3 separate regions of the Homo sapiens genome follow, and regions 2 and 3 are each linked to region 1. The links are contacts of gene promoters, found by promoter capture Hi-C in human tissues and cell types (Jung and others, 2019). All regions are on one chromosome and are shown on one strand. The core of a region is centred on a gene start or on the middle of the fragment in contact, and the rest is flanking DNA. Distances in the headings are between cores, read along the strand shown.

Region 1 (4,662 bases), core at 1,856-4,355:
ATTTTCTGTTCAAGGAACAGAAAAAAGGCCAGTGAAGCTAGCGGTGAGTGGTGAAGGGGAAAGTGTTATGAAAAGATGTTAGACAAACATTTAGGGGCCAAACAGATGATTCAGGCCTTCATAAGGAGTTTGCATATTATTTTATTTTTTTGAGACAAAGTCTCTGTTGCCCAGGCTTCAAGGTAGTGGTGTGATCTGAGCTCACTGCAGCCTCTGCCTCCCAGGTTCAGGTGATTCTCCTGCCTCAGCCTCTCCCCCTAGTAGCTGGAACTACAAGTGCACGCCACCATGACTGGCTAATTTTTGTATTTTTAGAAGTGACAGTGTTTTGCCATGTTGGCCAGGCTGGTCTCCACTCCTGGCCTTAAGTGATCTGCCCGCGTTGGCCTCCCAAAGTGCTGGAATAACAGGTGTGAGCCACTGTGCCTGGCCTACATTATATTAAATGTGATGGAAGCCATGTATTGAGTAAAAGAATGACTTGATCTGATTCATGGTTTTTGAAAGATCGCTATAGTACCTAGCGGAAAAAGGATAGCAGAGGGCCAAGAGTGAAAGAAAGATTTGTGAGGAGGCGAGTGTAGTGGTCCAGGTAAGAGGTAATAGTGGCCAGATATGGTGGCTCACACCTGTAGTCCCAGCTACTAGGGAGGCCGAGGCACGAGAATTCCTTGATCCCAGGAGGCAGAGGTTGCTAGTGAGCCGAGATCACGTCACTGCACTCCAGCCTGGGTGATGGAGGGAGACTCTGTCTCAAAAAAAAGAAAAAAAACAGAACATATTTATACACAAATGGAAATGACCCAGAAGAGGAGAAATTAGTCTGGGTGTGGTGACATGTGCCTTAATCTCAGCTACTTGGGGGCTAAAGTTGGAGGATCACTTGAGGTCAGGAGTTTGAGGCTGCAGTGAGCTATAATTGCGCCTGTGAATAATCACTGCACCCCAGCCTGGGCATCATAGACCCCGTCTTTAACATTTAGAAAGACAGAGAGAAAGGAGAGATTGATGAGGCAGGAGCAAGGAGGATAATTGTTGGAGCAGTAAAACTCTTGAAAAGGAGACAGTATGGAAGATATGGATAGTATCTTGAAAAATAAAGTGGATGAGAAGTGACACGAATAGTGGAAGAAACAAAGACGGTGGGCTATGAAAAATGATGGGGAGATACCAGGGATCAGTAGCTGACAGCATCTCAGAGTAGCAGCAGTCTGCATAAATTTTAAAAGCACTTGAGTTTCTGAGGGAGGAAGGAAGAGAAGTGGTTTGGAGGTAATATGAGGAATAGGCCACAGATAAGAATACCTATGAGAGGAAAAATAACCTCCTGTACTTGAAAAGTTGCAAGGGAGGTAGTTTTGCTAAGTGATAAACCGGGTTTCAGTTGGAATGGGAAGTTGATGGGAACATTTACAGAAGAGGCTAAGAATAAAGGGGAAGTGGTTGATGGCAGATGTTGAAATCAAAAGTGTGAAGTGAAATGGTTAGGATATTTGGTGAAGAGTGGGATATGGAATCAGAGTAATTGAAGCAGAGAGTAGCATGGAGATACTAGAGCAATAAACGGATGACGCAGATCCTACTGGTTGTGATTGAGGTGGAAAGGATTATAAAGCATGATGGAATTATCTTTTGGTAATCTCTTGGGTCAAACGTGGTGAACGGTAAGATGAATAATATAGAGCTACACAAACCGTTCTTGTGATATGGAGGCTGCTCCCTAATTACAATGCTAATATTTCATTTAGGATTTTTGTATTCATCGTTACAAAACAGGGTCTGTAGGTTTCCTTTTAGTGTTCATAATGCTTAGGTTTTACTAACAGGGTTATGATTACCTCTCCAAACAAGCTGGGATTTTTTTTTTCAAGCGTTTCCATGCCCTGGAACCATCTGGTCTAGTGCTTTTTGGGGTAATGAATATCTTCAATTGTATTTATTTTTACTTAGTTGATCTATTCAGATTTTCTACATTTTCTTGAGCTGATTTTGCTTATTTATATTTTTATTGATATAAAGATTTTTTCTATTTTTATTTCTTGTGCCAACTGTATGTACATTCCCCCCATTCCCGTTTCCATACTGTTTTTAGGCCATTTGAAAATCTCAAAGGTTTTACAGGAAAGTACAGATTGATGAAGAAATGGCCAAAAACGGGAAAAGTGAACTTTAAAGTGATTCAACTACAAAACGTATGCTACTGAGCAAATACTAGTGTATTCCTCGCTCTGCGGCTTAACTCCATGAAAATCCGTGCAAAGGTTTTAGCGTTGGGATTGTGACCGACTCGGTGAAGAGAGGGGACGATCACCAAACCGTTAGAGCACTGGGGCTCTTGGCAGTGTTTGTCAGTTATTTTCAAGTGATAACTTGAAGTGATACCGCAGGAATAAAATGCTGTATCCAGAGCTGGTCGGAACGAGCACTACCTTTAACAAAAGCTGAAAAGATCTGCCTAGGAATTCGTTAGAATACAGCCCTCTTACGTCTCTGACATACCTAGTTATGTGAACCGAGACTGTGCAGCTGACGGTGGAAATTTCCTAAGTGCTTTTTAAACAACAGAACTGGACTCCCTCCCTCCTCCATTCCCAGTCGAATACGTCCCACCCAGATCCAGCTCAAGGGTGCAGCACTTGTTCCGGCCAGCTCACAATCGCCCTTTGGAAGGGAGGTTTCCCGCCATTTCGCTTAGGAGGAGGGTGAACTCTTCTCCCTTCATTCTCCACTCGCTGGGGGCCCGAGCCCACACCACCTTCCTAGCAAAGCAAGCAGCGGGACGCCAAGGCCAGCAGGCCGCATTAAGAACGCTGGACTGAGCCAAAAGCCTACACAGACCAAGCCGCTCGGGAAAGGATCAACAACTGCCGACAACCCGGAGGGCGAAAACGCCCGCGGCGTAGGGGAAGCAAACTAGGAGATGCGCGGGCCCAGCGCCAGCGGCGGGAGGAGGCAGCGCGGCCGTCGCAGGCGGGAGCGAAGGCGGGGACGGAGGGCGGGCTCGCTCCACTCGACTCCGGATTGGTCGAGCTTAGAGAGCCGAGTGACGTCAGCGGGGGAGAACGCCTGATTTGTGTGGTGGGCGCGGGCGGTGGGGGGAAGCGCAGTGCGCAGGCGCAACTGCCTGGCTCTGCTCGCTCCGGCGCTCCGGCCCAGCTCTCGCGGACAAGTCCAGACATCGCGCGCCCCCCCTTCTCCGGGTCCGCCCCCTCCCCCTTCTCGGCGTCGTCGAAGATAAACAATAGTTGGCCGGCGAGCGCCTAGTGTGTCTCCCGCCGCCGGATTCGGCGGGCTGCGTGGGACCGGCGGGATCCCGGCCAGCCGGCCATGGCGGGGCTGTACTCGCTGGGAGTGAGCGTCTTCTCCGACCAGGGCGGGAGGAAGTACATGGAGGACGTTACTCAAATCGTTGTGGAGCCCGAACCGACGGCTGAAGAAAAGCCCTCGCCGCGGCGGTCGCTGTCTCAGCCGTTGCCTCCGCGGCCGTCGCCGGCCGCCCTTCCCGGCGGCGAAGTCTCGGGGAAAGGCCCAGCGGTGGCAGCCCGAGAGGCTCGCGACCCTCTCCCGGACGCCGGGGCCTCGCCGGCACCTAGCCGCTGCTGCCGCCGCCGTTCCTCCGTGGCCTTTTTCGCCGTGTGCGACGGGCACGGCGGGCGGGAGGCGGCACAGTTTGCCCGGGAGCACTTGTGGGGTTTCATCAAGAAGCAGAAGGGTTTCACCTCGTCCGAGCCGGCTAAGGTTTGCGCTGCCATCCGCAAAGGCTTTCTCGCTTGTCACCTTGCCATGTGGAAGAAACTGGGTAAGTTCCCTGGCTTGTTTGGCGCCCGCCCCTTTTTCAGGCAGTTCAGGGCTTTTATGGCACCAGCCCCGCGTGGGCCCCCGGCACCCAGAGCGCAACCAAAGTATACACTGATGGAAGTGACTAAAAGCTGTAATAGCGCTTTGCTGGGTGGAGGTCCGGGCAAACCAAGCGGCCTTGGGGAAGATAGGATTGCCGTCTCCCTGCAGCCTATTCTTGCTTTATTTCCATCCTCCAAGGATCAATGGGAAGCAGTCCACTCCCTTCCCTGCTTCACTTTGGTGGCAACCAGAGGAAACGTGTTTGAAACCTGGCGCCAGATTTTGGCCAAAAGATAAATCGATGTTGCACCTGGGCCAGGCGAAGGAAAAACTGTAGTGTTTCCTTAGAGAATCTGTCATAATTCTGCTCCTGAAAGTCTTATCCCTCTCGGTTGCCTCCTACCGGTGGTGTCAGTTCTCCAGATTGACCCGGGATTGCTGGGGTTGGTTGCTGGAGTAAAGCGTAAGCTAATTTAGAAGGGCTGAAACGTAACCATCCGGCAACTTAAAGTTTTGGAAGGAATTCCGTTGTAATGATGGTGAGATGTTTTTAGGATCATAAACCTGTACTGCTTATGAAAACTAAAAACGCGGAACGTGTTGTTACCTCTTAAAAACTGGCCCCGTGTTAAGGGTGTGCGTTAGATTCTGCTTGGGTTTTCTTTTTGGAAATTGCCTTAGCTGATTGCTTTCAGATAGTTCCCAACCGGTTGTTCCTAGTTTAAAAAGTACTTATAAATTGTAACTGCCCATCAAAATAAGAAAAGGCAAGGAATTACTGTATGCTAGAAGGAAATAAAGGTCTTAAATGTCTAAAAATTT
Region 2 (4,991 bases), core at 1,195-3,694, 370 kb before region 1:
ACAGCTAATTTATGTATTTTTAATAGAGACAGGGTTTCACCATGCTGGCCTCAAACTCCTGAACACAAGTGATCCACCTGCCTTGGCCTCCCAGTGTGCTGGGATTACAGGCGTGACCCACTGTGCCTGGCCTAGAAACCAAAATCCTGTAGACAAGACAGTAGAACCAAAATGATCTATGTCAAAAAAGAAGTATAAATTAGTCCTAAGTGTTAATTTTCTTAAAGATAATATCAAGCTTCTCACAGCTTTTCTAATATGGAATTCATACCAACACAAAATACATGACATTTAAATTAGGTTTCTTTTTTCTTTTTCTTTTTTTTTTTTTTTTTAATTAAAACAAGTTTTGGCCAGGGATGGTGGCTCATGTCTGTAATCCCTGCACTTTGGGAGCCAAGGTGGCTGGATCACTTGAGCTCAGGAGAGTTGGAGACCAGCCCGAGCAACGTGGATAGATCCCGTCTTTACAAAAAAATATTAAAAAAAAATAGTGGGGCATGGTGGTGTGCACCTTTAGTCCCCAGTAACTTGAGAGGCTGAGGTGGGAGGATGGCCTCAACCCAGGGGGTGGAGGTTGAAGTGAGTTGAGATCATGCCACTGCACTCCAGCCAGAGCAACAGAGCGAGACTCTTTGTTTTTTTTGTTTTTGTTTTTTTTTTTGGTAGAAATGGAGTCTTACTGTATTGCCCAGGCTGGTCTCAAACTCTAGCCTCAGGTAATCCTCCTGCCTCAGTCACCCAAAGTGGTGGGATTACAGGTGTGAGCCACCTCACCTGGTTAAATTAGGTTTCAAAAGAAAATTTTCCATAAACATAAATGCCTTATTATTTAAATCAATTCAACTTTTTTTTTTCACTTATGCTTTTTGATTTTTTTAGTCTGGAGTATAGCAAAGGCTCTTTTTTTAATACAGGGTCTTGCTCAGTCGCCTATAGCTCACTATACCCTTGAACTCCTGAGCTCAAGTGATCCTTCCACCTCAGCTAGGACCACAGGCATGCATCACCATGCCCAACTAATTTTTAAAGTTTTCATAGAGATGGGGTCTCAATATGTTACCCAGACTGGTCTCAAACTCCTGGAGGATCCAAACAATCCTCCTGCCTTGGCCTCCCAAAGTACTAGGATTACAGGCATGAGTCACCCGGCCAAAGGCATTTTTTCATTTTTAAAGTTCTCTATGTGATCTCACTACATATGCAGCCAGAATTAATAACTATTGCCCTAGTGAGGATTATAGTCTCATGCATTTGTTTTTATAATGTGCTCCAGATGTTAAGAGCTTAGAAATTGACTTGTTATTAAATCTGCTACCTGCTCTGGAACTTGTGTTTTAGAAGAAGATTTAGATTTATTTAGTTTTCAGGTCATTTGCTTCCTGCCCATAAAGATGGAGCAAGACAGACAGCAAAACCATTTTGAAAGAGTAACAGCGCCACCTTTGAGAAAAATTAAAGTCTTCCAAGTCACTTTGTTTTCCTCCAGAAAAATCACTTTAGTTTTGCTATAAGTGATCTTAAATGATGTTTCAATAACCATCACATTTTTGGCAAGGTAATCCGTTTATAAATTTATACTCACTTCTATATTCCATTTATATAAAGTTGATGCATTACAAATTACTTTTTTTTTCCTTCTTTTTTTGAGACAGAGTCTCGCTTTGTTGCCCAGGCTGGAGTGCAGTGGTGCAATGTTGGGTCACTGCAACCTCTGCCTCCTGGGTTCAAGCAATTCTCCTGCCTCAGCCTCCGGAGTAGCTGGGATTACAGGCACGCACCACTGCGCCTGGCTAATTTTTGTATTTCTGGTGGAGACAGGGTTTCGCCACGTTGGCCAGGCTGGTCTTGAACCCCTGACCTCAGGTGATCCACCTGCCTTGGCCTCCCAAAGTGCTGGGGTTACAGGCGTGAGTCACTGCGCCCGACCACAAATTACTTTCTAAAAAATTTGTAGTAATATATTTTGAGGAAGATTGGGTCTATTTGAGCAAACAATTTTCTTCAAGTTTTCCTCTAAGATGGGCATGTAAGAGAATTTCAAGGAGTAATATTTGGAATTGTATCTTAAATGTTTTAACATGTTTGAAAGTCTTACATGGTGCCTATGTTTCTAAAGAAAATGTAAATGAAACCATTCCTGTAATAATGCTTCTCATTCTGAAGAGCTCAGTCCATAGGTTAAATCTATATATATCACTGGCAAGAAAACAGGATAATAAAAATATTACCAGGCATTAAATTTGCTAGGCTAAATTTTATAATAATTTGTGAACAGGATGATTCTAATAACTTCTCAGAGATTGCAACATTTGCCTCTAGCAACTGCGGTTCTACCACATGCTTTTAACATGGTACAGTGAGTAATAACCTTTAGACTTGGAGAATATGGGCTTTTCTTTGCTTCTCTTCCAATGCTCCAAACAAACTAGACTGGTCTGTCTTCTCATTGTCTTCGGCTTTCTTTTCTATTACAGGAACCTGATGCTCTCACTGTTCTCCACTGCCTGAAACTGTCAGCACAACTCAGGTTCCTTCTTCCCCTTCCTACACGCTTATTTTTCTTGTTCCTTCTACCCTTCTTGGCTTTCAGTGAAATAGCTACCTTTTCATCCGATTAATCTTATTACCACTTTCCTTCTATAAGATGAACAAACCAATCACAGTTATATATTGCAGAATCTTAGAGTCACTAGCTTTTTTTGACTGTTCATTTCTGGCTGCTTGCGGAAATTTTTGTTTTTCTAAAACATCAAAGGATCATGTTTTGTTTTTATTGACTTCAGGGGTCTGGAACTATTCAAAATTATCCTAGAACCCTGGTTTTCAGAAGATAGATTTCTAAATAGGTAAAGTTTCACCTGTAGAGAGAAATGTCCTCATTTTCTGAGTCAACAATTCACAAAAGGACTAGGTACTTATTTTAATATAAGAGAATTTTATTTTGAGATTTTAGGATTCCCTGTGAGTTGTATAAATAGTTTATGTGTTCTAAAATATGGGTCAAGATTCACCTTTTTCTCTATTGATGATACTACTACTTTTTATGCCCTGTACATAGGTATGTTACAAGAATCAATTAACAGTTATGTCAATTTCATATTTCACTAGTGACTGAAATGCTAGCTTTGGAAAAATAGAGGGCAGCATGGAGCAACAGATTAGGTACTAAGGCAGGACTCAGGACACTGAGCTCTAGAGTGCTAGATAAAGTAATAAAATAATTGTCTGATACAGCTTTGGGCAATTATAAAACCTAAGGACCTCAGAGGCTTCATTTGTAAATTCAGAGAAGAGAGGTGTTTCATTCCTTTTATTTCCCACTCAACTACACATGTCTGAGGCAGGAAAACAAGGCTGCCCCACTCGTGGCAGTCCTGACGACGATCCTCGAGGGCTGCTCTTGGCCTCCAGCCTTGGCTAAGGAGAACAGGGACCCCCCAAAGCCCATGGGAGAGAGGCACGAAAGGTGATTTAAAGTATCTTCTAGCTCTAAAGTTACGTGATAACTAAATAGGAAAATCTGCATGTGAATAGTAATAGCTGCTCCTTCATAGTTCTCAAAAAGGAAGATACACATTATGTAATGTAATAATGATAGAAAAGATTTCACCATTCTTCCCCATTTACATTTTTTTAGGAGATTACACATAGAAGAATAAAGCTTGACACATTAAAGCGGGGAAAGACTGGTAAGATTCCATGAGCAGAGACACAATCAAATTATTCATGCTCCAGTGAATCAGCAAATCTGGGGTTAGCCACTTCTAAGAAAGGATGGCTCATTTTTCCTGATCCCTTGGTCTCTGATCTTTCCATTTAGTCTTGCCAGTATTTGAAACATACTACCCTCACAATTAGTAATATTCGTAAGTAAATATGTCATTTTATGAAGAGAAAAAATTAAAGCTAAGTACTCTCTTAGGTAGGCAGATGAAGCTCTAAGATCAAATTATCTGACATGTCAACACTAATTTTCTTTTTCTTTTTTTTTTTTTTTTTTTTTTGAGATGGAGTCTCACTCTGTCATCCAGGATGGTGTGCAGTGGCATGATCTCGGCTCACTGCAACCTCTGCTTCTTGGGTTTAAGCGATTCTCCTGCCTCAGCCTCCCAAGTAGCTGGAACTGCAGGCACACGCCACCACGCCAGGCTAATTTTTATATTTTTAGTAGAGTCGGGGTTTCACCATGTTGGCCAGGCTGGTCTGGAACTCCTGGTCTCAAGTGATCTGCCTGCCTCAGCCTCCCAAAGAGCTGGGATTGCAGGTGTGAGCCATTGCACCTGGCCCAAATTTTTTTTTTTTTTTTTTTTAAACAAGGCGTTTGTCAAAGTGGCCACATGGACTGGAAAGAGAAATTTGATTTTTTTTTTTTTTTTTTTAAATACAGTCTCATTCTGTTGCCCAGGCTGGAGTGCAGTGGCATCATCTTGGCTCTCTACAACCTCTGCCTCCTAGGTTCGAGCTATTCTTGTGTCTCAGCCTCCTGAGTAGCTGGGATTACAGGCATACACCACCATACCCGGCTAATTTTTGTATTTTTAGTAGAGACGGGTTTTCTCCAGGTTGGGCAGGTTGGTGCTGAACTCCCAGCCTCAAGTGATCTGCCTGCTTTGGCATCCCAAAGTGCTGGGATAATAGGCGTGAGCCACCATGCCTGGCATGAAAGAAGAAATTTAAATCCTCATATAACTACTGCTACTACTACCACCATTATTACCTTTAACCTTATATAGAGTTTCTATCTGCCAGGCACTGGGCTAAGTGCTTCACATGTATTAACTCATTTAATTCTCACATCCCTACTTAAATAGATATTACTATTAATCTCATTGTTCATATGTGAAAACTGAGGTAGAGCAAGAAGTAGTAATTTATTCAAGGTCATAAAGCAAGTGCAAGGGACAAGAGTCCAAGCTCACTACAATTACCTTATTGAAGTTTCTCATAATAATAGCTACCTATTTAGTACTTACTATGTACCAGACACT
Region 3 (5,070 bases), core at 626-3,125, 410 kb before region 1:
AAAGAGCTCATTTAAAAAGGGGAACTTAGAGGAAAATTCTTTTTTTAGAAAAGGAAATCTGGCTTGGACTTGGGTTATAGACTTCTTTTTTGAGTACAAATTCTGTAGTAACAAGATATTAACTGTCATCATCTTTTGAACTGGTCACTCAAGGAAAAAACTGATGTGCTTCAAAAGGAAACGTGCTGCATCATCGTTGTTGGAATGAGTAGAAAAAGGGGTGTATCATATACGGTAGTGTTTCCTTTCTCATAGCCAGTTAAATATTATCTCTATTATCTCTACCAGGAATACTTTATGGCCAACCACAAATTAGAGTAAGCTAGTAAAGAATGTTGATTTTTATTGACTATATTTTCTGTGGAACACAGGCTACAGTGCTAGATGAAGACAGGAAAGAAGGCTGATAAAAAACATATTTGTGGACTGTACTGACAATAATTTCTATTTATCAGTAAATTTCCCAAAGTGATAAAGATTCCCTTTACCTCTTGGGATCTACGCTTAGATCCTCTACTATTGTTTAAATAATCTATAAATTACTTATAGGCACCCTCTTCTTTTTCAAAGTTACTTTAAAGCTCATCTTTAACACAAAACACAGGAAATGAAGTAATAGTTTTCATAGAAGACTATTGAAAAAAAGAGAGTGGCCTAAGAATTTGTCTAGCTTAATTTTCTTTTTTTCTTTCTTTTTTTGTTTTTTTGAGACAGGTTCTTGCTCTGTTACCCAGGCTGGAGTGCACTGGCGAGATCACAGCTCACTGCAGCCTTGATCTCTTGGGTTCAAGCAGCCCTCCAACCTCAGCCTCCCAAGTAGCTGGGACTACAGGTGCACACCACCACACCTGGCTAATCTGTGCATTTTTTGTAAAGACAGGGTGACATCATATTGCCCAGGCTGGCATCCAGTTTAATTTTCTACTGAGGAATCTGAGGTCCCAACAGGAGAGAAATGTAAAGGATAAGAGTGATTGCCTCTGTTTTTTTTCTGATTACTAGGTATAATATTCATGTTGGAAAGCAGAGAAAAATGTTAAAAGGCAGGGAATCCTTTTATATTCTTAATTATATTCTTAATACAAAGGCAACCACTGTCAAAATATTGGCAGATTTTCTTCTGTCCTCTTTCCTAAATAGTATTTTTTTCAATATTGAAGGTATTATTTCCAGTATATGCAACTTTATGTCTTGTTTTTTAAAAAATGTTCACATATCATAAGCTTGTTCCCATAAATGTTAGCAAAAACTCCTGGTAATCATTTTCAACAACCGCATTATATTTTATCCAATGAATACACCATGCTTTATTTAACCATTCCTCTAATGTGAGACAAATATAAGTTGTTAATAACTTTTTGCTATTCTAAAAAATGCTATGATGATATTTGCCTGCAAATTATGGAGTAATTACAGAGTATTCTCCCCTCAGATAAATTCCTAAAAGGGAAATCACTGGAATAAAAAATATAAAGTATATGGGCAATAATCCCAATTTAAACCACGGTATCTCTTTTGTCTACATGACTTTCTAAGCACATTCAGAAACCCTACATGTAGGGGAGCCCAGATTAGTCATATGGGCCCACTCCCTAGCAAGGCATCAATAGCCCTTCACTTCCATGGTATCCTAAGTGCATCACTGAAAGTGGAAGTAGGGTGAGATTTAACAGGTCACGTAGGCCGTTTCCTATAAGCAGGATGTCCTAAAGAGCTTTTCCGATTGCACACTGGATTTGTTAAAAAGGGGAAGAGATTTATAGAGCCAAATAATTTGTCATCATTGACAGTAATGTCTTGTCAGATTTTGTGCTGACAAAGATTTATGAATCTATCAACTAGTAAAATTTTCCCTCCTTGCTAGTGAGCATGATCTAGAACATTAGTTTCTCTTCAGCTTTCTTTAGCTTTAGCCTAGTGATCTTTCATTTGACAAGTATCCACAAATTATACTTATTTCTGGCTAGAAAGGGCTCCCAGGAGCCTTGGTGTGTGCGGCATATTTTGGGATCTAAATAAGAAACTAGGTCTAGAATTGGTAGTTTCCCCAGTCCTCCATAGCACAACAAGACAGAAAAGTCAGTTACCGTTACTAACTTATCCAAAGGGAATGCTTTAAAAAATAGTAAAGGAAATTTCCAACTATCAAGAGCCATAAAAATGCAAAAACCACTACAATTCCTCATGTGACTTAAGGAACTCCTTTGACTCTGTTGTTTTTACCTCTCTATCAGATTCTTAATGTCTTTACCATTCAAATAATATTTGGTTGATTAAAAACTGCCTGAGGCAAACATTTTTAGGTATGGAGTTAAAATTATTTCTGAAGCAACATTTTCAAAATTTAAAAATTGCTCTGGCCAGACAGTGACAATAGAAGAATGTGAAGTGCAAAGAGTGGCCACTGAGATGTGCTCTTAGGTACCCAAAATGGAAACATTTCAATCCTTTCTGTAACTTTTCTGATCACTCTGCCTATTAAAGGCAGCAGCTATAGCCCTGGGACACATTTGAACTAAGTAACTGTGGTTACCAAATGCTGCAACTTCAATAATATTTAACAGAGAGATGCTTATTGATATGTCATGGCCAGACACAGTTTTGTTTCAAGGTTCACTTATTAATATTTTTGAAATTTAATGCCTGCTATAGTTTGGACATGGTTTATTTGTCTCCATCAAAATGCATGTTGAAATCTGATTCCCAATGTGGCGTTGTTAGGAGGTGGGGCCTAGCAGGAGGTGTTTGGGTCATAGGGGTGAAACTCTTGTAAATGGTTGGTGCCATTCTTGCAGTAGTTGAGTTCTCCTTCTGAGAACTTAGTTTCCAAGAGAGCGGGCTGTTAGAAAGCGAGGATCTTCCTCCTGTTTGGTCCTCCCTCTTGCCTGTGTCTGTTCTCCTTTGATCTTCTCTGCCATGTTATGATGCAGCACAGAAGCCTTTGCCAGAAGCCAGGACCATGTCCTTGAACTTCCCAGGCTGCCGAACAGTAAGCTAAATAAACCTCTTTTCTTTACAAGTTACCAGCCTCACGTACTCTGTTATAGCAACACAAAATGGACAAAGACAATGCCCCAATACAATGAACTCCAGAAGTTGGAAAATGAAAAAGCTCAAGCAAACATGTCAATATATTAGGTGCCATAGAGGATGCCAATGAAGGTTTTTCTGGTTGTTTTTAAATTGTCTAAAACAGAAATGGCATAATAGTTACACTGGTGGAAATTTCTCATATAAAAACCACCATTTTATGGTGGCCCTAAATACTTACCCTTTCCTGGGATGTTTGATAGCGAAGGTGAAGGGCTGTGGGATCCCAATCCACAGCGATATAGGCATTTCCAATGAAAGCTCTGTCTTCCCCACAATCAATTTTACAGCCTCTGCAAAATCTAAAAAGGGGGAAAAGATCCACAGAGGAAGAAATAATTATGAAGGAATCTAAATTTTCTTAATAAAAAATATTCTCCCTTCCTACTTTTCTGCTTTCCTCTTGGGCCTCACAATTTGTCATGGGCTTCTAACTTCAGACTCTGATAAATGTAGGGATACTTATTAATAATTAGTACAGTTTCAGGGAATCATGCTTTTCATTTTTCAAGTCTTTATTTTTACAAAGTACTTGATAACCACCTGTTAATCACAGGAAGATGTGAACTTTATGGCAAATAAATGACATGGGAATTGCCTGTTTGAGATACTACAGCACTCAAGAAATTCCAAATTCAGTTATTGAATGCTCTGAGGTAGGACAATTTATCTGGTGTAACACCTAGCTCCTTGTCTGTAAAATGGCAGATTAAATAAATGCATATAAAAGTTTACAGGGGCCGGGCATGGTGGCTCATGCCTGTAATCCCAGCACTTTGGGAGGCCGAGGTGGGTGGATCACCTGAGGTCAGGAGGTCGAGACCAGTCTGACCAACATGGTGAAACCCTGTCTCTACTAAAACTACAAAAATTAGCCAGGCATGGTGGCAGGCACCTATAATCCCAGCTACTTGGGAGGCTGAGGTGGGAGAATTGCTTGAACCTGGGAGGTGGAGGTTGCAGTGAGCCGAGGTTGCACCACTGCACTGCAGCCTGGGTGACAGAGTGAGACTCTGTTTAAAAAAAAAAAAAAAAAAAAAAAAAAGTTTATAGAGTTGCAGAGGTGGGGTGGGAGATGGGGTAGGGGGGAGGATATAATAAAGTCATGGTTCCAATGCCTACTTTATTATTATTATTATTTTTCTTGAGATGGAGCCTTGCTCTGTCGCCCAGGCTGGAGTGCAGTGGTGCGATCTGAGCTCACTGCAAGCTCCGCCTCCCGGGTTCAAGCAATTCTCCAGCCTCAGCCTTCCAAGTAGCTGGGACTACAGGTGCCCGCCACCATGCCTGGCTAATTTTTTGTATTTTTAGTAGAGATGGGGTTTCACCGTGTTAGCTAGGATGGTCTCAATCTCCTGACCTCTTGATCTGCCCGCCTCCACCTCCCAAAGTGCTGGGATTACACGCGTGAGCCACCACGCCTGGCCAATGCCTACTTTAGACTCAGTTTGCTAAGTCTATTGCAGTTCTCTAAAGGCGGACTTTAGTATCATTAGGCACTTTCCCTGTTGTAACAGCAATGACCAATCAATCTCCGTAACTCTTTAAAAACCAAGAACAGATTTCCAGCAAGGTCTAGTAAAGACTATGGTCTACTGTGCTTAGAACTGGCAAACTTATATTTAACGAGAGGCTTGGCGTGGTGGCTCACACCTATAATCCCAGCACTTTGGGAGGCTGAGGTGGGTGGATCACCTGAGGTCAGGAGTTTGAGACCAGCCTAACATGGCAAAACCCCATTTCTACTAAAAATACAAAAATTAGCTGGGTACAGTGGTGTGCACCTGTAGTCCCGGCTACTCGGGAGGCTGAGGCAGGAGAATTGCTTGAACCTGGGAGGCAGAGGTTGCAGTGAGCTGAGATTGAGCCACTGCACCCCAGCCTGGGTGACAGAGCGAGACTCCATCTCAAAACAAAACAAAACAACACAAAAAAGGAGAGGTGAAGTTATAGAGTAATAAATGTTTATCACAAGCTATG

What was found. Contacts are between HindIII fragments. The study calls those that stand out against the background at their distance.
Region 2: a contact is called between a fragment that was not itself captured here and the fragment with the promoter of PPM1D in region 1, in 1 of the 25 tissues and cell types used here (dorsolateral prefrontal cortex).
Region 3: a fragment that was not itself captured here is called in contact with the fragment with the promoter of PPM1D in region 1 in 1 of the 25 tissues and cell types used here (IMR-90 fibroblasts).

What each region holds. Positions count from the first base shown.
Region 1 is chr17:60,597,088-60,601,749 of GRCh38, forward strand. PPM1D (protein phosphatase, Mg2+/Mn2+ dependent 1D) reads left to right here and starts at 3,106. Exons shown (of 6, transcript NM_003620.4): 1 at 3,106-3,799. The coding sequence starts at 3,328. RefSeq lists enhancers at 2,039-3,027, 3,028-4,015, 3,176-3,225. The HindIII fragment of the contact is 15,450 bases long and covers 1-4,662 here.
Region 2 is chr17:60,228,184-60,233,174 of GRCh38, forward strand. All of the region lies in intron 12 of USP32 (ubiquitin specific peptidase 32), which reads right to left. It also overlaps SCARNA20. Among named protein-coding and RNA genes, the nearest start is that of CA4, 81 kb to the left of the region's middle. The HindIII fragment of the contact is 6,309 bases long and covers 1-4,991 here.
Region 3 is chr17:60,187,292-60,192,361 of GRCh38, forward strand. USP32 (ubiquitin specific peptidase 32) reads right to left here. Exons shown (of 34, transcript NM_032582.4): 29 at 3,272-3,392. Among named protein-coding and RNA genes, the nearest start is that of CA4, 40 kb to the left of the region's middle. The HindIII fragment of the contact is 9,453 bases long and covers 1-5,070 here.